Linked DNA regions of Homo sapiens: regions 2, 3, 4 and 5 are each linked to region 1. Evidence: promoter capture Hi-C in 16 types of primary human blood cells and fetal thymus (Javierre and others, 2016). All regions are on one chromosome and are shown on one strand. Each heading gives the region's core, a stretch centred on a gene start or on the middle of the fragment in contact. The rest is flanking DNA. Distances are from core to core; before and after follow the strand shown. Region 1 holds the start of FGD2 (FYVE, RhoGEF and PH domain containing 2). Region 2 holds the start of CPNE5 (copine 5). Region 3 overlaps CPNE5 (copine 5). Region 4 overlaps CPNE5 (copine 5). Region 5 overlaps TMEM217B (transmembrane protein 217B).

The links. The method cuts DNA at HindIII sites, captures the fragments that hold promoters and counts their contacts. A CHiCAGO score of 5 or more calls a contact.
Region 2: the fragment with the promoter of CPNE5 here is called in contact with the fragment with the promoter of FGD2 in region 1 in 17 of 17 cell types (erythroblasts, activated CD4 T cells, neutrophils and 14 more); the score reaches 18.8 in erythroblasts.
Region 3: a contact is called between a fragment that was not itself captured here and the fragment with the promoter of FGD2 in region 1, in 5 of 17 cell types (erythroblasts, M0 macrophages, M1 macrophages and 2 more). The highest score is 7.7, in erythroblasts.
Region 4: a contact is called between a fragment that was not itself captured here and the fragment with the promoter of FGD2 in region 1, in 3 of 17 cell types (erythroblasts, activated CD4 T cells and endothelial precursors). The highest score is 6.6, in erythroblasts.
Region 5: a contact is called between a fragment that was not itself captured here and the fragment with the promoter of FGD2 in region 1, in 12 of 17 cell types (activated CD4 T cells, total CD8 T cells, naive CD4 T cells and 9 more). The highest score is 9.4, in activated CD4 T cells.

The regions. Positions count from the first base shown.
Region 1 is chr6:37,004,405-37,008,581 of GRCh38, reverse strand. It overlaps FGD2 (FYVE, RhoGEF and PH domain containing 2), which reads right to left and starts at 2,927. Exons shown (of 16, transcript NM_173558.4): 1 at 2,697-2,927. The coding sequence starts at 2,764. RefSeq lists enhancers at 792-961, 2,782-2,911 and a silencer at 3,167-3,329. The HindIII fragment of the contact is 9,965 bases long and covers 1-4,177 here.
Region 2 is chr6:36,837,910-36,841,900 of GRCh38, reverse strand. CPNE5 (copine 5) reads left to right here and starts at 2,457. Exons shown (of 21, transcript NM_020939.2): 1 at 2,457-2,618. The coding sequence starts at 2,524. RefSeq lists an enhancer at 549-1,099 and a silencer at 1,784-1,993. The HindIII fragment of the contact is 11,867 bases long and covers 944-3,991 here.
Region 3 is chr6:36,756,613-36,760,526 of GRCh38, reverse strand. The region is part of intron 12 of CPNE5 (copine 5); the gene reads left to right. Among named protein-coding and RNA genes, the nearest start is that of RAB44, 61 kb to the right of the region's middle. RefSeq lists enhancers at 287-1,255, 1,091-1,280. The HindIII fragment of the contact is 2,341 bases long and covers 1,358-3,698 here.
Region 4 is chr6:36,807,676-36,811,289 of GRCh38, reverse strand. The region is part of intron 3 of CPNE5 (copine 5); the gene reads left to right. Among named protein-coding and RNA genes, the nearest start is that of CPNE5, 30 kb to the left of the region's middle. RefSeq lists a silencer at 98-266. The HindIII fragment of the contact is 2,206 bases long and covers 298-2,503 here.
Region 5 is chr6:37,234,770-37,238,807 of GRCh38, reverse strand. All of the region lies in intron 1 of TMEM217B (transmembrane protein 217B), which reads left to right. The region is part of intron 1 of TMEM217 (transmembrane protein 217); the gene reads left to right. Among named protein-coding and RNA genes, the nearest start is that of TBC1D22B, 21 kb to the left of the region's middle. The HindIII fragment of the contact is 2,392 bases long and covers 1,253-3,644 here.

The sequences.
Region 1 (4,177 bases), core at 1,678-4,177:
TTAAAATGAAGCCACAGTGTCCAGGAATCCTTTCTGTATATAGGGGTTTTTGAGTGGTACCCCCTGGATTATCCTCACCTTTGGACCTCACCTCTGTTTTCAGTTTCCACATCAGTAACCTATACATCAAGGGAAGGTAGGAGCCACAGAACAATATAAAGTGAGAGCAGGCCTGCAAAAGCTGGGGCTTCTCAATGGGATCGACATCCTCCACACGTCCAGAAGCAGGGAGAGCCAGCCCAGCAGCAGATGCTCTGTTCTCCCAGGGACGGGCCTTCGTAGGTCACCTTTATTACCCTGTGTACTGGGTTCTGCAAGCCAGTCAAATTCCTTAGACAACAGGGCCCACCCTTGATGAATACACCCAACGTTGCCCTTGGTGTGGAAGGGCTTGTGATGACAGAACAGGGCAGGCATCCTTATGAGAAAGACAGGCCAGGAAATGGAAGGCCAAACAAATACGAAATCTCCAAAACTCCGTGAGAAAGGTTTTCATTACCCATATTTTGCACTCAAGGAAACTGAGGTCTGGACAGGATGAGTAACATGCGGCTCGGAAGTGGCAGAGGTGGGATTCAAATCAGGCGACTGCTTCCTGAGCCTTCACTCTAACCTGCCCCTCCCCATTTGAGTAAAGGAGAAACAGGTCCGCGGAGTCAAAGTGACTTGCCCCAAGTGACACAATTGGGTTTGTGGCAGCGAAAGCATTGGGACCTAGTGCTGTGTGGCTACTCCCAGGCTCTCCCACCCCTCCCTGGCACCCCAGTCCCTGGTTTCTCAGCCCATGGGTCTGCAGCTCATGGGCGTAGCTGGTTCTCAGGCTTTCTGTTCTACATTTGGTTTCAGGTTCTGCATTTCTGTTCTAGGGCCCCTGGCCAGCTTCTGTTTCCTCTTTGCCCCTCAGTTTCAGATCAGCTGAGGTGCTGGAGACCTCATAAGGAAGCCCAGGCCAAGGCAGTTGGTATGGGTCCCCTCACTCAGTAAGGAGTGGCTCTCACCCTCTTGATGCCTGCTGGGACCTAACTCCCGTCTAAGGGCTGCCCACTCCTGCCAGGGTTATTGCCTGGGCAGAGCACAGCATGCTGAGGGGCTCCACCCAGGTGTGCCTAGTCCACGTCAAGCATGTTGAGTGAGGTGGTACCATCCACCCACACCCAAGGGGGTGGTGGGCCAGGAAGGCGGCACCCAAGAGCTGTCTTTGGTGCTGAACAGGACGAGCTTGGCAAAGATCCCGGGAGAGGCAGGGGAGAATCACCCAGCTCAGGAAGTTGAAGACTTCTAGGTCTACATCTATGCCATCTCCACCCTGAAGCCTACAGGAAACATTGCCTGCCATGAGTGCCCTCAATACAGCATCCGGGCCATTCCTAGGACATCTACTGTCTATGACCTTGCATCATAGTTATTCGATGAGCTCAGCATCCAAATACTGAAACCCTTCTTCATCCTCTACAGTTCCTGTAGGATGCTGTGCTGTGCCACCCATGTCCCTCCTTCAGGAATGAGGCCTCCCCACACCATCCCCACCAGCTACTGGTAGTACTGGGGGCTGCCGGGTAATTTATTGGCTGAGTCCCTCTCTGGGAATCACTCTCTGGAAGAGAGAGCTGCCTCACCCAGAGTCTCTTGTCCAGTCCACATGGAGATACAAATACCCAGCCCTCTTCCTCAGCTGGAACAACCGAGAGGCATCCCAGCTCCAGAGCTCCCTGGGACAGGCTGAGGCCTCTGTGGCAGGTGCACTGCAGTTCAGCATCTCCCCCTGCCCGGCCCTGCTTCCCTCACACCCACAGCTGTTGTTCCCAAAAGCTCTCCCTGATAAATCACCTGAGGCAAACCTCTGTCTGAGTCTATTTCCAGAAAACCCTACCTGGGACAGCCCCTAACACAGTCCTGAGCTTAAGAAATGCCTGCAGAATGGATTGATGCCACACATAACACACAACACACACATACACACACGCGCACACACACAAACACACATGCTCCCAGGGCTACCAATGACTCCACGCATCTGGCCCAGCCTTTTCCCTCCAGACAGACGCCCCAGCATTGCCCCAGATACTTAAAGCACTTGGCATCCTCACCTCTCTGTGTCTCCATTTCCTCATCTATAAGACGGGAACAGAAACAGAATCTACCCCTATTAGGCTGTTCGATGACTAAATTAAATAAGTAAGGACATGAACTTAGAGTAGGGAGTACCCCATCAGGATGCTGCCCGTACATCCTGGTTTGCCTCATACGGTCCCAGCTTTACCTGTAATGCCTCCCCCACAACCACCACATTTTATTTGGCATTTACTTTCAGTTTCAATTGTGTGCTGAATGATAAATTATATGGTTATCCTAATCATAGGGCGTAAATTCTTGGTGAGTATCAGCTACCTTTTCTGAGAGGTGCTGGCAGGCACTGGGTGGGGTCCTGTGCCCACACACAGGCTTTGGTCTGCCCATGCTTGCTCGTAACCACACCTGTCTGGACTCTCCCAACACACACTGGCACTCTCACCCCTGCCTGGCTCCTGGTGTCCCACCGACACTCTCCCATGCTCCAAGGAATCCGTGACCGAGGAACGCGGGGCTGCCCCTGCAGGAGGAGGGTCCGGGGCAGGGCCCAGGGAGAGAGCTGCCAGAAAGGCTGGAGGGTGGCTGCCAGCCCACCATGGTGACCCTCCCACCCCAGCTGCCCATACCTGCTATTCTCAAACACAGTGACCAGGTTGGACACAGATGCCAGCTTCTCCTCACTTGCCCCCTTCATCCTGCCGGTTTCCGGGGTGGATCTCAGCTACCCTCGAAGCAGAGAGAGAGGCCTCCAGCCAGCACACTCAGCCACGCTGGCCTGGGACAGATAGGCTAAATCACCCATGAATCTGTTCTGATCTTTCTTGAGGGCTCAGAAGGTCGGCTCTTGGCTTCAGAGTGAAGAAAGAGGAAGTGGTCCCAGAGCCACAGCCCTGCAGGGGAAAGGCCAGCACTCCCGCAGTGGGAGGAGCCTGCTCGGGCCCCACCTCTCCCTCAGGGGGGCTGACCTTTCACACCTGTAGACCCCCATTCCAGAAGCCACCTAAGAGGTGGCAACAGGGCCCAGAGGTAGCTTCTGGAGCCCAGTCTGGGCTGGTGCAGTGGTTTGCACCTCTAATTCCAGTGCTTTGGGAGGCCGAAGCAGGAGGATTGCTTGAGCCCAGGAGTTCAAGACCAACCTGGGCAACATAGTGAGACACCGTCTCTTAAAAAAAAAAAAAAAAAAAAAGGCCACCCGGAGCCAGACCCTTGGCTGGTTTCTTGGCCTAGTGGTTCCAGCCAACCACACTTTCTCCTTCAGAAGGTCCAGTGGCTTTTACTTGGCCTCTTTCCCAGCACCTTCTTTTCTGCATCTGCCCCTGCTCACAGCTGTAAGGAAATAATGTCTTTTTTATTCTTTAGAGACAGAGTGCGGTGGTGGGATCTCGGCTCACTGCACCCTCTGCCTCCCGGTTCAAGCGATTCTCCTGCCTCAGCCTCCTGAGTAGCCGGGATTACAGGGCCTGCCACCACGCCCTGCTAATTATTTGTATTTTTAGTAGAGATGGGGTTTCACCATGTTGCTCAGGCTGGTCTTGAACTCCTGGCCTCAGGTGATCCTCCTGCCTCGGCCTCCCAAAATTCTGGGATTACAGATGTGAGCCACTGTGCCTGGCCAGGAAACAGCATGTTTTATTTAAAATAATCACAAACCTGGTAAGGGTGGCAGGGAGTACTGTGATGTTCCCACCTCCCCACTGGGGTTCTCTCATTTTAGTTGTTGCTGTCATCACCTCATTGCCCCAAGGGAGGGCAGTTTCCTCCCTGAAACTCAGAGGATAATAATAGCTAACATGCACTCTTTTTCATGCTTATGAGTATTTTCTTATTAATCCTATAACAACCTCATGAGGTAGGTACTATTCCTATCCCCACTTTACATAGGAAGAAACAGAATCAGAGAGGTTAAGTAACTTGCCCAAGGTCACCCAGGAAGAATACAAGAGAAGTTGGATTTCCAAAGCAAAAGTGGGTGTCCTACAGTTCCAGCAAAGGTTCGTTGGGAGCCTGGATGACCATGTTCTTGCTGCTCCATCCCCAGGCCTCCCTGATCCCAGGACACTGGGTTGTCTTTGCCTGAGGCCTCCTTTACCACCTGGTCTCCCGGCCC
Region 2 (3,991 bases), core at 1,208-3,707, 170 kb after region 1:
AGTGGAGCCTCTTGCTCAGAGTCAGGCTTTGGTCTCAACTGCCTTGTTTCACATTCTCACTATGCCAGTCCCCAGCTGGGTGATGATGAGTAAGTTACTTAGCCTCTCTGGGCACTGGCTTCCTTACTTATTAAATGTAGATAATATTAGGTTGGTGCAAAGTAACTGCAGCTTTTCCCATTAAAAGTAATAATATCTCACTTATAAAATTATTTTGAGAATTTAAAATCATGCACGGTCCCTGTGAATATGCTACAAACCGCTGATTTATACAACTTAAAATGGTAATTTTATGGTATGTGACTAATATTTCAAAAAAAAAAAGTAAGCATGGTGTCTGGCCCAGATCTTTGAAAATAAAACGATGCTAATTATTGTTATGAACAAGGTTTCCCAAGGCCCTGTCACTGGGCCAGGCACACAGCAGATGCTCAGTAAACACTCCTGGAATGAATGGAGAACATATTCCACAAGCATGCTTTGAGCATTGTTTATGCCAGGTATGTGGGGGATGGGGAACATAGAGATTCCGAGTTCAGTTTTGCATCCTCAGGAAGGGAAGACAGAATTATTCTCCTTGGAGTGGGGCCTCCTGACCCAGCTGTGCCTGGCTGTCAGGGGAATTAACAGCCTCTGTCCCTTGCTGCCTGTTCCAGGAGGCAGAACCCAGTCCAGCTGATTCTGAGCCATGGGGAAATTGTAACAGGCAGAGGAATGTGTTCTTGTATTTATCTTTGACTGACAGTATCTGATGTTCCAGGAATTGACTTCAAACAGAATCCGGAGGAGCCCCTTATGGTCCCGCTGCCACAAACAAGGCCCAGAGAGCGCAACTCTGCCCAGCCCAGCACCAGGTTTTTGGCCTCCCCGCCGGCCCGAGGCACATCGGCTTCGATGTGCCAGGCGGTGGGCGAGGAAGTGGAGGTTCCAGCTCGGCAAAGCTTAGGCTGAGGCTGAGGATGGGCTAGAGTCAAGTCTACGTGTGCAGCCTTACTCAGGGAGACGCCTCTGCGCTGCAACCTCATGCCCGGGAGGGCAAGGCTGGGCTAGGGCGGGGGATCGCGAGGGGCTTGGCTGGGAAGAGGACTGCAGGAGAGGTGTCCCAACTCTCCCCTCGCTCGCCAGGCACACAGCACGCGCCTACTCGGTGCTGGCTGCATAGAAGCCCAGGGAGCTCGGGCCGATCTCCCAGTCTGGTTGCCACCAGACTGGGTGGCAGGAGCTTCTAGACCTGGAGGCTGGCTCAGTCGTGTGGTCACGACGGGCGGGGGAGTGGAAGGGCGCTGGCGCGTGGTTTCGGCAGCCGACTTGGCGAGGCCGCGGCTGGCGGGAACCACGGATGGGGGAGGCGCCCATGCACCGACCCCACCTGGGCCACTGGGAAACCGAGGTAGTCCCTCCTGGCACTGGGGTCGCCCCCACACACCTCCCCAGAAGGAGATGTAGGGTCTGTTTCTGAACTGAGACCCGCCCCCGAGTAGGGCGCACACTCAGCAGAGACCCTCCACACCCAAGCCCCTGGGAGGGGATCTTTTTTGCACACCTCCCTCCCACTTATGCCCCCTCTCAACCCTGCATAGACCTTTCTCAAAAAGGCGCCCGTTGGTTCCCATAACCCTCCCCCTCCCCCAGGATGGAGACCCCTGATGGGAGATAGGGGTGGTGAGAGGGGGCGGGCGCAAATGAAGATGCGCGCGACCAGGACCACCTCTTGCTGTCACCCGCCACGTCCCCAGCATCTGGACCGCGTCCCCCGGCCCGCCACGCGCGCACACACACACACACGCGCACACACACACGCTCACACTCACCCTGCGCGCAGACCCCGCCCGCGGCCCCGCCCCGGCCCCTGCGGGCGCCCCCTCTGGCGTTCCCGGGCGGCGGGAGGCTGCGGCTTCGGGCAGATTTGATTTTCCCGCAGCCCGGGCGCCCCGGAGCCGAAGCCCGAGCCGAGGAGGTGGCGCTCGCAGCCGCGTCTCAGCCCCGTCGCCGCCGGCGCCAAGACCCAGGGAGAGGCGGCGCAGCCCGGGCGCTCGGGCTCCGCGCTGCCGGCGCCCCGCCACCCCCGCCGCCAGCGCCCCATCCGGCGCCTCCCGCTCCTCACGCCCCTCTCCCTGTCTTCTGCATCCCCTCTACCTCTGCCCACAGACGCGCGTCCCTCTCCTGGTGCCCCTCTCCACGACTCCGCGTTTCCCTCCCGGTGCCCTCTCCCCGAGCCCCTCTCCCCGCGCCCCTCTCTGCCTTCCCCGCTGTGCCCCCGCTCCCTGGGCTCCTTGCCCTTCCCCACTGGGCCCCTAGCCTCCTCGCGGCGTCACCCGAGCCCCCTCCTCGATCCGCGGCCCCCGCTCCCTCCGCCCTCTTCCCTCTCTCACTTCCCACGCCCCCTCTTCGCGCTCCTCTCTCCTCCCCTTGCCGCCCAGCCCAGGCTCTGGAGTTGGGGGAGAGCCCAGGGCTCCAGTCGCTCCGGAGGAGGCGTGAATCGCGCAGGGATTGACTAATTTGGGGTGGGGGGTGCGGTGGGCGATGGAGCAGCCTGAGGACATGGCGTCGCTGAGCGAGTTCGACTCCTTGGCGGGCAGCATCCCGGCCACCAAGGTGGAGATCACCGTGTCCTGCAGGTGAGCCTCCCGCTGGCCGGGTCCCCTTGCCCCGGCCCTGGACGCAGAGCCCCGCGGCCCCTGCCGCTTCGATCCTAAACCTCCGCGCGCCCCCTTCCCAGAGTGTCCTGGTCTCCAGGACTGCGCCCCTGCCGATCTGCCAAGAGCCCCTGTCCTGTCCAGCTGCGGGTGGCGACGGCAGAATAGGAAGCCAGGCTGGGGTCATATCCCAGAAAGTTTGCGCTCCAGGCTGTTGCATCGAGGAGATATGAAGACACAGGAACAGGGGGTCCAGGCACCCAAGTGGGGAGAGGGAGTTGGTAAAAGGCTGTACTACGGTCTCTGCTCAGGCTATCTCTGATCACCCCATCCCCAAATCACGAAGTGAGTGATTTGCCCCCATCCCTCCCAGGCTCGTCCACCCTCTCCCTTCTGTGCCCTCCTCTCTTCTCTCTTTGCCCCTTCTTTGCCCCAGCATCCTGATCCTCCCCTCACCAGTCTCCCCCACCCCACTGTCCTAGACTCTAGGATTTTAAAGCCTTCCTTCATCTCTATCAACAACGAAATCGACTCCTGGAAAAGGATCAGATTGACTCATTCATACTAAGGTGTGGATACATGATAACAACTTAAAGTGGCACCATTAAAAAAATAACTTGGGTCAAAAATCTTAAGCCAAAGGAATAGAACACTGATTGTGAAACTGTAGAGTCCAACAGAGGAGGAGGGGGAATATTTTTGTGGGCTACCACGCCCAAATCTTCACTCATGTCACACAGGGTTTGGGGGTAACTTCTCTGTCTAAGAGCTGGGTCGACCCCAGGTTCTCCTAGCTAGGGGAAGGCTGCCCCTGGCAGTAAGAGGGTATGGGTGGCAAAGGGGGATTTTTCCCTAGTTCAGTCTCTCTGTGGCTGGCCTAGGATCATGTGCTGCCACGCAAGCATCACCCACTTTGAGGTTCCCCCACAGAGGCCATGCCCCCTGCCCCAGATCACCGACAGCATTTCTGGAGCCCTGGCTGTGCCCTTGTTCGAAATCACCCATCTCATCCTCTTCCAGGTTGCTCCTTGGTCAGACCCTCCATGAGAGGTAACCTTGTTGCCCCCCAGTCCTGTATTACAAAGTTGTGGCATTGATGAGGTGTAGGTAGAGCTGGAGAGTCTGGGCAGGGGCGTGAAGGAGGGAAGGACTCAGTGTGACTTTCTCTTGAAGACTTGGGGATAAGTGGCAGTGAAGGCTAGTCTGGTTGAACGTAGCTTCCCCCCTAAGCCAGGCCCTCTGGGGGCTCCTGTGATAGCTCCCAGGTCCCATACACCATGCCGTCAGGATCATCTCCCAACGCCATTTGCATCTTGTCATTACTCTGCTGGGAGATTCCTGATGGCCCATTAGCT
Region 3 (3,914 bases), core at 1,279-3,778, 250 kb after region 1:
CATCTCCCCCCTTATGGGGCTTTGCCACAGCCTCCTTTCTTCCTTCTGTCCTCTACACAGTAACCAGCGTACTCCACCAAAATAGTGATCTGATCACATCGCTCCCCTGCTTAAAATCTGTGTAGGGCATTCCACCCACCTCCTTAGCCTGGTTCGCACATGGGAGGTGGGAAGAGATACTGAAAGATGCTCCCACCGCAGCTGAGATCCACTGACCTACAGGGTGAAGTTCCAAGCTCTTTCATTTGGGATGCTGTTTCCCCAGCCAGCCACCCGCAATCTGTGTATGCGTGCTTTTTTTTTTTTTTTAAGATGGAGTCTCATTCTCACCCAGGCTGGAGTGCAGTGGCACAATCTCGGCTTACTGCAACCTCCACCTCTACTTCCAGGCTCTAGCTATCCTCCCACCTCAGTCTCCCAAGTAGCTGGGACCACAGGCACACACCACCACCCTGGCGATTTTTTTTTTTTTTTGCATTTTTGGTAGAGATGGGTTTTTGCCATGTTGCCCAGTCTGGCCTCCAACTCCTGAGCTCAGGTGATGCACCCGCCTCGGCCTTGCAAAGTGCTGGGATTTCAGGTGTGAGCCACCACGCCTGGCTGTGCATGTAAATAAAAACACACATCACATGCCTTTGGAGGCCCCTAGGAGCTGGCCCCTGCCCCTTCCCTCTGCCCATTCCCACATTCATCCCCGTCCTGCCACCTGAGGCTCTCTGAACCTCCGTGCTGTCTCAGCCTCCAGGGCTCGATTCATATGGGTGCCTCCACCTGAGACTCCCTCTTGTCTTCTCCTGGGTAGGAGCTATTGGTCCACGGAGCCTCCCTGTGGGTGTTCCTCCTCCAGGAAGTTGTGTCCACCTGCACACCCGCCCCACCCCAGAGCCTGGAGTGGACACTTGTCAGTGCTCCTGGGGTTCCTTCTGGCTATTTTCTGTTTTGTGACACTATTCAACCCCTCAAAGACCTTGAAGTCCTCAGGGTGGGGGTTGTGTTGCACTTACTGCTGCATCCCCAGAGCCAGCACAGCTCCTGGCCCCTAGGAGCCCCTCAGTGCCCCCACCCACCCCACCTAATGTGCGCAGGAGGGCAGATTCCAGACCTGTCCTGTCCCCGCCTGACCACCAAGAAGAAGGGAGGTGACTTAGTGGAGGGGCAGCTCCTCGGCTGGCCCCTAGGTGGCGCTGGCCCCCTGCATGGGATTCACCGTGGCGGGGCTGGAGAGGCTGAGGCTGGGAGCATGAAACCTCAGGGTAAACAGGGATCTGAGAACAGAACATTGCTTTAACATTAAAGCAGTTATATCAGAGAGTGGAAATGTGGAATACAGGCTAATTTAAAGATAACATAGAAAGCTTAGAAGAAACATGCTTGTGGCCAAATCTTTGGTTACTCTCAGGACTCCGGGTTCATTCTCCCCAGCTGGGAGGGCTATGTTGGAGCAAAAGTTTGAGATGCTGTCCATTCCGATAGTTCAACACCCTCAAGGGAGAGATTGGGAAACTGAGGCACAGTGCAGCACTGGGGCTGCCATTTTGCCCTCATCTTAACAGCTTGCCTACTTAAGCTGTTTTCCCATGAATGTGTCCGTGAGCACCTCACCATCTGGGTAACCCCGTGGAGGGGGCGTCCTCCAGTGCTAAAGAGGGTGCTCTGGTCTTCTCTCCCGGGCTCTCTCACCATCTCGCCCAGGCCCTCAGTTTCTACCTGCACAGCTTGCCAGACCTCCCACGTGAACTTCCCACCTGTGCCCCAAATCCAGCGCCTTCCTTCTGTGTCTACCTGGTCACCCCAACCCCTCCCTCTCTCGAACCTCTATAGCCACGCCCAGGGCCCAAGAGGCGTGGTCACTTCTTGACAGCGCTGTTCTCACCATAGCTCAGCACCTGTCCCAATACCCCCAAGTCCTCATGACCTCTCGCATGGACTTATGGTGGCAGTAATAATAGTAGTAGTAATTTTGAAAAATAGCAACTAAGGCTGGGTGCAGTGGCTCACGCCTGTAATCCCAACACTCTGGGAGACTGAGGCAGGAGGATTGCTTGAGCCCAAGAGTTTGAGACCAGCCAGAGTAACATAGCGAGATCCTATCTCTACCAAAAAAAAAAAAATAGCCAGACATGGTGGCAGCTACCTGGAAGGATTGCTTGAGCCCGGGAGGTTGAGGCCACAGTGAGCTATGACCCCACCACTGCACTCCAGCCTGGGCCATAGAGCAAGACCCCGTCTTAGAAAAAAGCAACAGACACGTATAGATAATACTTACTACATTCCAAACTGTTCTAGGCACTTTGCTTGCATTGGCCCATTTAATCCTCATACCTTTCCGGGAGGCAGGTACTTCTTATTCCCATTTTAGAGATGAGGAGACTGAGGCACATTGAGGTTAAGTAACCTGCCTAAGGTCACACAGCTATTATTAGGTGGCAGAACTAGGCAAATATTTCCTGGATGAGCCTCCTCCTCCCCTCACACTCACCTCCACCAGGCCCCAGTGTCCTAGAGCCTGCTCTGATTTTGTCTCCTACCAGCTTGGGGGTCATCAGAGTTCCCTGCAGGCCGCTGGGTGACATTCAGACATTTTTCACTGGGCATTCTAGGCTCTCCTCCAACCAGCCCAGCTTACTCTTCCACCCTGTGGTTCTGCCATCAAACTGGGCCTGGGTTCTATTCATTTCTCCCACAGAACCTCCTCTGACATCCATCTCTCCGTGCCCAGAGCCTTCCTGTGCCTCTAAGTCTGCCTTCAAGACTTCCTGCTCCAGAGAGGCTTTGCTGACACTCTCACCTAGAGTGGTCTTTCCTTCCTCTAACTCCCCTGACACTTCTGTGATCCCCCTTGTTCCATGGCCCTTGTCACTTTTTGCCCTGAGGACATATCTTCTCTCTCCAACATAGGTGATAGATGATTCCAGGGGAGAAGCAATATATGTCTCCACCCACCCCATAAATGTATGTCAAAGAGATCTGTTTGTATCTGTTATCAAGGTGGCACCAATGTATGCACCACTGGCCCGGGGGCAGGAAACCTGGTTTCTAATCCTGTCACTACCCAGATGGCTGTGTGACTTTAGGCAAATCACCTGGTGTCGCTGTGCTTTAGTTTCCTTCTTGCTGGAAGTAGATAGCAATACTCACCCAGACAGAAGAGACCACGGTAAAGATCAGCTGACGGCCTCTGTGGGAACAAAGACAGGGAAAGGGGAAATGAGTTCACCAGAAACCAACAGGCAGCACAGGAGGTATGAAAATTGCCTGGCTTTGTTTGATGGGACATTAGGGAAAAGTTGTGCCTAGACTTCCCTTATTAAAAACAAAACAAAGAAAAACTGGCGAGGGTCAAATGAGAATACAAATACAGTAAGTGCGGAAGTCTCGTGGGGGGCCTCAGGGCTGGGTGGCTCTCGTCACTTTGCCCAGTCTTGGCCTTGGCACTACTGGGATTTGGGACTGCATCACTCCCTGCCGTGGGAGGCTGTCTTGTGTACTGTAGGATGTTTAGCAGCATGCCTGGCCTCTACTCACCCCCTCAGTTGTGGAAACCAAAACCGTCTCCAGATGTTACCAAACGTTCCTGGGGGTAAAATCGCCCCTGGTTGAGACCGCTGAGTTAGCCACCAACAAGCCTTCTCTGAGCACCTACTCTGAGCCTAGCCCCATGATTTATCTGACACAGGTCTGGTTTGGAAGTTAAAGCTTACACTCAAAGAATAGCTAAAGAGGTTCTTGCTGCCAAGTAAGAGGGATGGTGATGGAGAGGGGAGCCTCAGAGGCCCTGGGCAGCCCTTGGGCTGGGTCCCAAAGGAGGAACAGGGGAGATTGGAATTGGCTGAGAGAGGAAGGGGGTGCATTTTTGGTGAGGGGAGCAGCCTCAACCAACACAAGGGACAGGTACAGATAGGGCCGCTTTGCAA
Region 4 (3,614 bases), core at 151-2,650, 200 kb after region 1:
CTATCGATGTTTTGGAGTGAGCTGGGGGACAAGTCCCAGGGCCCCCTCCATGATGCTTGGCTTCCTTTAGGGTGGGGACTGCTCAGGCCCCCCACCCTCTACAGTCAGACCCGGGGCTAGAAGGCTGGGGGTGGGGACAAGGTGGTGGAGAGTGTTTTGTTGGCAGCTTGGCAGCCAGGCTCATTGGTAAAGGGTCGTTCCCCGTTCCCCGAGGAGCTGGGATGATTGAACAGATTATCTGAAACAATGGCTAATTAGGAACTAAGCTTTTTGGCAGGAAGTCTTTCATTCTAAGCTTGGTAAAGTTTCATACCCTGACCCTGGTCTCTGGGCGAGATAGGGAGGCTTCTCTGACCAGGCTTGAGAACAGGGAGGCCTTTAGAGCCTGGGCTTCCCTAACTCAGGGCCCCTGTCTCCACCTCTGCCCTGCCTTACCTGGAAGCCTTAACAAAACAGGCAGCCATTTGGGAGGTCACCAGGCCTACGAAACGAAAGGTGCCAAGGTCATGGCTCACTCCCTGTAATTTTAGGCAAGCCCCATCTCTCTCTGGGCCTGGTTTTCCTCACTGCAACGAGGAGGGGTGGCCACAGAATTCTGGACTCCTTCAGTGACAGAACCAGAGAGAACTTTCCAGACCCAAGATGGTGCAGGCCTGGCATGGCCAGATCCTCCGTGCTCCTCCGCCTCCCCAGGCCCTCCTTTCCTGTCCCCAGATCTCAGGCCACTCTTCCCAGCCACTGGGCGCCCCCACCTGGCTCCTATTCCCAGGGCCAGCCTTGGAAAGCACATTCCCTTTTTCCGTTTCTATTTGAGTCAGGTAGCTTTCTGGCCTCTAATTTTAATCCTAGTGAACATGATTCATGAGGGGCCAGGGCTGGGCTCTGCAGCGAGGCTTTTAGAATCCCCAATTAAGGAGCCATCAATAATATATGAAAAGTATTGAGGGATCTACGGCTGGGGAAGGGTGAGCAGCTTGTGAGGTAGACAGCAGTCTGTCAGCTCCAGCCTCCTATCCCACCGGCACAGCCCCTGGGGGCTTTGCAGCTGGGGGATGGCTCCGAAGCTCAATCCAGCTGTAATTTGTAAAAAGGCAAGAGCTGCCTAAATCCAGGGCCATGAAGATTGTTCAGGCTTGCAGAGAGCCACCCACGCATGCCTGAGGTAGGGGCTGTGGTGAGCACCAGGGATGCTCTGCCTTTCTCACTCCTGAGAGTCCCGGCCCTTCCTCGCCCACCATGGGTTGCCTCTGGGAGGGCTTCTCTGGCCTCCAAGAGCTCCGTTCTTTCATCGGTAAAGTGGAGATGATAATAATTTCATTGTCACGGGGTCATTGGAGGGGGTTAAATGAGATCGTGGATGTATGGAAGTGTTTCAAAGTTGAGAAGTCAGGATACCAAGCAGAAGGAGGAGGAGGAGGATCGGGTGGAAGGGAGAAACCTGAGCAGGGATGTCCACAGGCTTCTGGGTGAACCAGGGCTCCACTCAGCGCTGGGAGCCCCACTGGCTGGGGTACCCGTCAGCATCCATTTCCTAATGAGCTGTGTGACCGTGGTCAGAACAGCCCCCCTCCCACCTTCTCTGCCTTTGTTTTCTCATGTGTTAATTGAGAGGATTTGGTTTCTTCCAGCTCTAAAATCAGGTCCTAAGTCAATTTGATTTTTTTTTTGGTTGTTGTTTTGGCTTTTTGTTGTTGTTGTTTGTTTTTTTGTTTTTGAGACAGCGTCGTGCTCTGTCGCCCAGGCTGGAGTGCAGTGGCACAATCACGGCTCACTGCAGCCTCAATCTCCTGGGCTCAATTGACCCTTCTGCCTCAGCCTCCCAAGTAGCTGGGACTACAGACGTGTGCTTCCATGCCTGGCTAATTTTCTTATTTTTTGTGGAGATGGGATCTCACTATGTTGCCCAGGTTGGTCTCGAACTCCTAGGTTCAAGCGATCCTCCTGCCTCCCAAAGTGCTGCCCAACTTGTTAACATTTTTAAAAGGAAATCACAGGAGGGTTGAGGACTCTTTCTCTCCTCCTCCTCTCTCTCTCTCAATCTCTCTCTCTCTCTGTCTCTCCCTTCCTCTCTCTCTCTCCTCTCTCTCTCTCTGCGTAGGGGCTGCAAGGGGAGGGATAGAGGTTGGGCAGGGTGTTAGGTCAGGGACACTCACATTATGACCTGATCTGTGGGTCCACCCAGACCCACAGGGAGTGTTAACAAGGGAGCAGGCACAGTAATCCCAGAAGTTCAGAGACTGCGCTAGGGAGTAGAGAAACTACAGGGCTGAAAACTGTCAGACCTAGTCCCAGCCTCCATTCACAGCATAAGCCTCTTACTGAATAGTGACTATATCAACTCCTTATTGATTTGGAGCCAGCCAGCCTGGGTTTGAATCCCGTTCCTATCGCCTGCTAGCTGTGTGACCTTGGGCAAGTCTCTCAATCTCTCTGAGCCTTATCTTAATTTACTTATCTGTAAAGTGGGGATAATAGTTCTGCTTCGGAAGGTTGTTATGAAGCTTAAATGAATGACCTTATGGATAACACTTAGTGCGTGGCACGCAGTAGGGCTCTGTGAGGGTTACTATCAGTATTGGAGACCAGCTCTGCAACAGACACTCCCTGCATGTCCCTTCTGTCCTCCATCTGGAGGAAGGAATGATTTACTCTGTTTAAGCAACAGGGAGGTACACCCTCTCAGGGGGTGTCTCAGGCAGATCGTAAGCAACACAAGGCAGGCCTGGGAGGGTCCTGGGCCCTCCCTGGCCCTGGGCCCCAATGTTCTGCAGCCATGGGCATTTGTGGGGAGTTGACTCACGTGCCGGGAGATGTCCTTGTGCTGTCTGTTGCTGCCTCCCAGCTGGTGGGTGATGAGGAGGAAGAAGGGGCCCAGATTTTAGAAATCTGGAAGCAGGTTGAGCACAGTGGCTCATGCCTGTAATCCCAGCACTTTGTGAGGCCGACGGTTGGGGGTGGATTACCTGAGGTCAGGAGTTCGAGACCAGCCTGGTCAACATGGCCAAACCCCGCCTCTACTAAAAATACAAAACTTAGCCAGGCGTGGTGGCAGGCACGTGTAATCCCAGCTACTGGGGAGGCTGAGGCGGGAGAATCACTTGAACACAGGAGGCAGAGGTTGCAGTGAGCCAAGATCGCGCCACTGCACTCCAGCCTGGGCAACAAGAGCAAAACTCCTCTCAAAAAAAAAAGAAAAAAGAAAAGAAATCTGGAAGCAACAGAGAGGGCACCTCTTCCTGGGCTGCCTTTCTCTCCACATCCTAGTCCATGATCAGAGGCTGAGCGGGCGACCTCTCTCCTTTACTTTCACTACGTGGCTTCCATGCCCAAGGGCTCCTCCTGCCTTTTGTTTCCTTCCCTGCTGGTGGCCACAGTGAGTTTCTTCTCTAGGCCCCAGGTCTCTAAGAAAACCTTAGGTTTTCTGCGGCCTTTTTTCAACTGAGGCCTGGGGTACTAAGGACCCTGGTGTTGTGGGTAGCCCGTAGGGAGAGTAGGGCCTGGATCCTGATGGAGAAGTCGGTTTGTTCGAGCAAAGGGCCAGCCCTGCATTTGCCTCCAGTCTCACCCCGCATACAGAAGATATCTAGAGAGCAACCACTGAGAGCTAGGGCTTT
Region 5 (4,038 bases), core at 1,199-3,698, 230 kb before region 1:
AATACTCAACCTCAAGAGTAACCAATAAAATGTAAAAAGTAAGTCTCTCCCTTTCATGTTGGCATCCTTAGCCTACTTGTTTTTGTCTTCATGCTTGTTGCTTCAGTAACAAAATAGCTGCTGAGGCTGCAGGCATCACACCACATTCAAGGCAAGAAAAAGGAAGAAGTGAGAATGGTGCCAGCCACATCATCTTCTCTTACCAGGAAAGGCAAAAGTCTTCCTAGATCTTCCAGCAGGTTTCTGCTTATATGTCATTTGCTAGAACTGTGTGCCATGAACACCCTGGATACAAGCAAAAACCTGGAAAAGCACATATTTTGCCTGGGTCTGGGCTCATTGCCATCCTGAGAGAAAGCAGACTTCTGGTAGCAAAGAAGGTGGAAATAGGTATTGGGAAGGAAGCTAACGGTGTCTGCTACAACACAGCTTAATAAATAGTAGTTTTATATGCATAATAAATAGTAGCTACTCCTTGGCATAAAGTAAAAATAATGATAACAAAAATACTTACATAATTATATTGTGTAAGTGCTTACTATGTGCCAGGAACTGTTCTGAATGTTTTAAATATGTTAACTCATTTAATCTTCACAGCAATTTTGTGAGGTAAATGTTACTATCCTTGGTTTTTTTTTTTCAGTGTTTTTAATTCTACTTTATATACATACAATTAGATTGATCATAATCCCTGGTTCATGACATACCCTCATTGGTCCATGCATGGCTCTCTTTTGTTTACTTTTTAAATATTAGTTATTGTAAATAATATATAGACACCTTCAAATCCCCTGTCCAAAATAAAATTAGTGTCTGGTCAGCAATTTGCATCTGGCTGTATGGTACCCCCAACACATTTTACTTCCTCCCCTGGCCAAGGTGATCATCATCCAGAATTCTGAGCTCATTATCCTTCACTTTGCTTTTCATACAGTTTTAGAGTTTTCTTGCATCTATATAAAGTCCTAAAAATATGTGTGTGTAGTGTGTGTGTATATATATAGAGAAAGATGGTTGTTTTTAACTGTATGTCTTTAGTACTTTTTTCACTTGATATTACATTGTTAAGATTCTACCATATTGTTGTATGTTGCTACAGTTGTTCCTTTTGACTCCTGTTTAACACTCCCATTGTGCAAATATGTAGCAGTTTATTCATCCTGAAACCATTCTTTACTGAAGTGCCTATAACATTCTTATTGATTTTCTCTTTTCTGGTTATTAACTGGTCTAATTCTGTTACATTCAAGCTTTGCATATGATTCTAGCAGTTTTCCAATATCCTTTTTAATGTCTGCATGAAGTCCTGAATCTTCTGCAAGACTTGCAATAATTTCTTGCAAACGACTTGCCTTGTGTTGTGTGTTGTCAGATATTTACAGTGGGCTACCAGAGAGAGGCTGACCAATAAAGATTTTGACTTGATGGGGTCTTGGTGCACACAGAGAGCCCTTCATTTCAGCAAGGAGGAATGTTGCAGGACTGAGGGAGGCAGAGAATGTCAATTCACTTGTGAATATTTTCTTGTCATGATGACTTTTGTTTCCCTGGGCAACCTGGCAAATGCGGGAACTTTGATTGTGAACACTCAGATACTCAGAAGTCCCTACATCTTGGCAAATTCTTTAACACTTCTCCCACAAAAGGTAGAATCTAATTCCTCTCCCCTTGAATATGGCCTTGGTGACTCACTTCTAAAGAATAGTGTCCAGGAAACGTGTTGCTATGGGACTTCTGAGGCTAGAATAAGAAAAGGTGATACAGCTTCCATCTGGCTTGCTCTTTTTGGGACACTCATTCTGGAGAAGCCAGTCATCAGGCTGTGAAGGAGCCCAAAGGAGCCCACACAGAGAGACCATGGAGAAGCCCACATGGATGGGCACTGAGGCCTCCAACTGACAGCCAAGAGCAATCGCCAGGCATCTGAGTGAGTCTTCTAGGAGAGGCTACAAAGTTTGAGGAGAAGTAGCAAGTCATCCTGGACATGCCCTGTCTAAATTCCCCACAATGTACAAAATTAAGCTAACTGTGCTCTGTCTGAAGTCCTCACCCACAGAATCCATTCACATAATAAATGGTTATCTTATGCTACTAAGTTTTGGGGTAATTTGTTATAGAAATTAATAAAATTAGTAAAAAAAAAAATAGTACTGGCACATCCAATTTAAAGATGAGCAAACTGAGACTTGGAGAGAATAAATTCACAGTAAATGGTGAAGCCAAGATTGAAGCCTGGGCATTTGACTTGCAAATTTGCGGATCTCAACCTTGATACCCTCCCTATAATGGCCTATTATTCCCTTGCATTTTCAGGATATCCTTGGTTACTCAGAACACAACTAATTAGCTTACTCTCCCACCCCAGGATTGAACCTGGGAGGGCAATGCTACCACCAAAAAAATACACATGCTCATACTCTAAAAATAACCCACTCAGAAAGGGTTAAACTGAGCTGCAGATTGGCAAATGATAAATGCTTAGTTCAGGGCCTAAAAAACAAAGAGTATTTAAAAATAAATGGCCAGGCACAGTGGCTCATGCCTGTAATCCTAGCACTCGTGGGAGGCAGAGGTGGGAGAATCACTTGAGCCCAGGAGTTCAAGACCAGCCTGGGCAACATAGTGAGACCATGTCTCTGTTTTTTTAAATTGTTTTTAAATTAAAAATAAAATAAACACTACACACTTTTTTCAGTTCAAACACGATGATGTTAAAGTGGGATGAAAGGATAAAAATCAGCTTTATTTTACAATGTTTTGTTATGGTAATGATTTTTTATTTATCTAGCTTTATTTTTCTAGTATGAATATTTTAAACTCTACATAAAGATATTGCTGTGGTTTGAATGTGTTTGACCCCTCCAAAATTCATGTGTTGAAACTTAATCCCCATAGTGGTGGTATTAAGAGATAGGGACTTTGGGGAAGGGATTAAGTCATGAGGGTTCCTTCAAAATGGGTTAGTGCTTTATAAAAGGACTAGAGGGAACTAGTTTAGGTCCCCTTGCCCTTCTACTTTCCTCCCTGTGAGGACACAGCAACAAGGCGTCATCTTGGAAGCAGAGAGCAGTCCTCACCAGACACTAATGCCAGTGCCTTGATCTTGGACTTTCCAGCCTCCAGAACCATAAGAAATACATTAGGCCAGGCGTGGTGGCTCACGCCTGTAATCCCAGCACTTTGGGAGGCCAAGGTGGACGGATCACAAGGTCAGGAGATCGAGACCATCCTGGCTAACATGGTGAAACCCCATCTCTACTAAAAAATAGAAAAAATTAGCCAGGCGTGGTGGCGGGTGCCTGTAGTCCCAGCTACTCAGGAGGCTGAGGCAGGAGAATGGCGTGAACCTGGGAGGCGGAGCTTGCAGTGAGCCGAGATGGCACCACTGCACTCTAGCCTGGGCGACAGAGCAAGACTCTGTCTCAAAAAAAAATAATAATAAAAGAAATACATTTGTATTCTTTATATATTACCCAGTCTGTGGTGTTCTGTTATAGCAGCATAAATGGTCTAAGACAGATATCTTTAATTTAAAACAATTTAAAATGTTGCCAACATTCCAAGATGGAATTGGAATCACTTCCAATTGTGTAGTATTTGAAGTAATATATCATTTCCAGAAATTTTCACAAGTAAAAAAAGCTTTGTTCTATCCCCAGCTACTTCTCATGATAATGTTTTTAGCTCATGGTTTAGACTATGACAGAGTTATCCAGCTGTCCTTCCACATTGCCAGCTTTAACCATTTTGCAGTTAAGAAGATACTGTGTTTTTTAAAAAGCCACACCAGCATAAGGGTAGCCAGTGGGATTTATTTAATGATCTGGGTTTATTAGGAATTCATGAAATAATTATATTTTCATAAATTTATTTTTATTAAAATTGTGCATGGGTGTGTAATATTAATATGTAAACCTTATAATAAAACCAGCATTTCTCTTTTCTTCCTTCCCTATCCCTATTCATACTTTTCACAGGTAACCACTTTCAGTTCTTCTATTTCCCCTCCTATTTATCTCTTTATCTCAAAATTACATG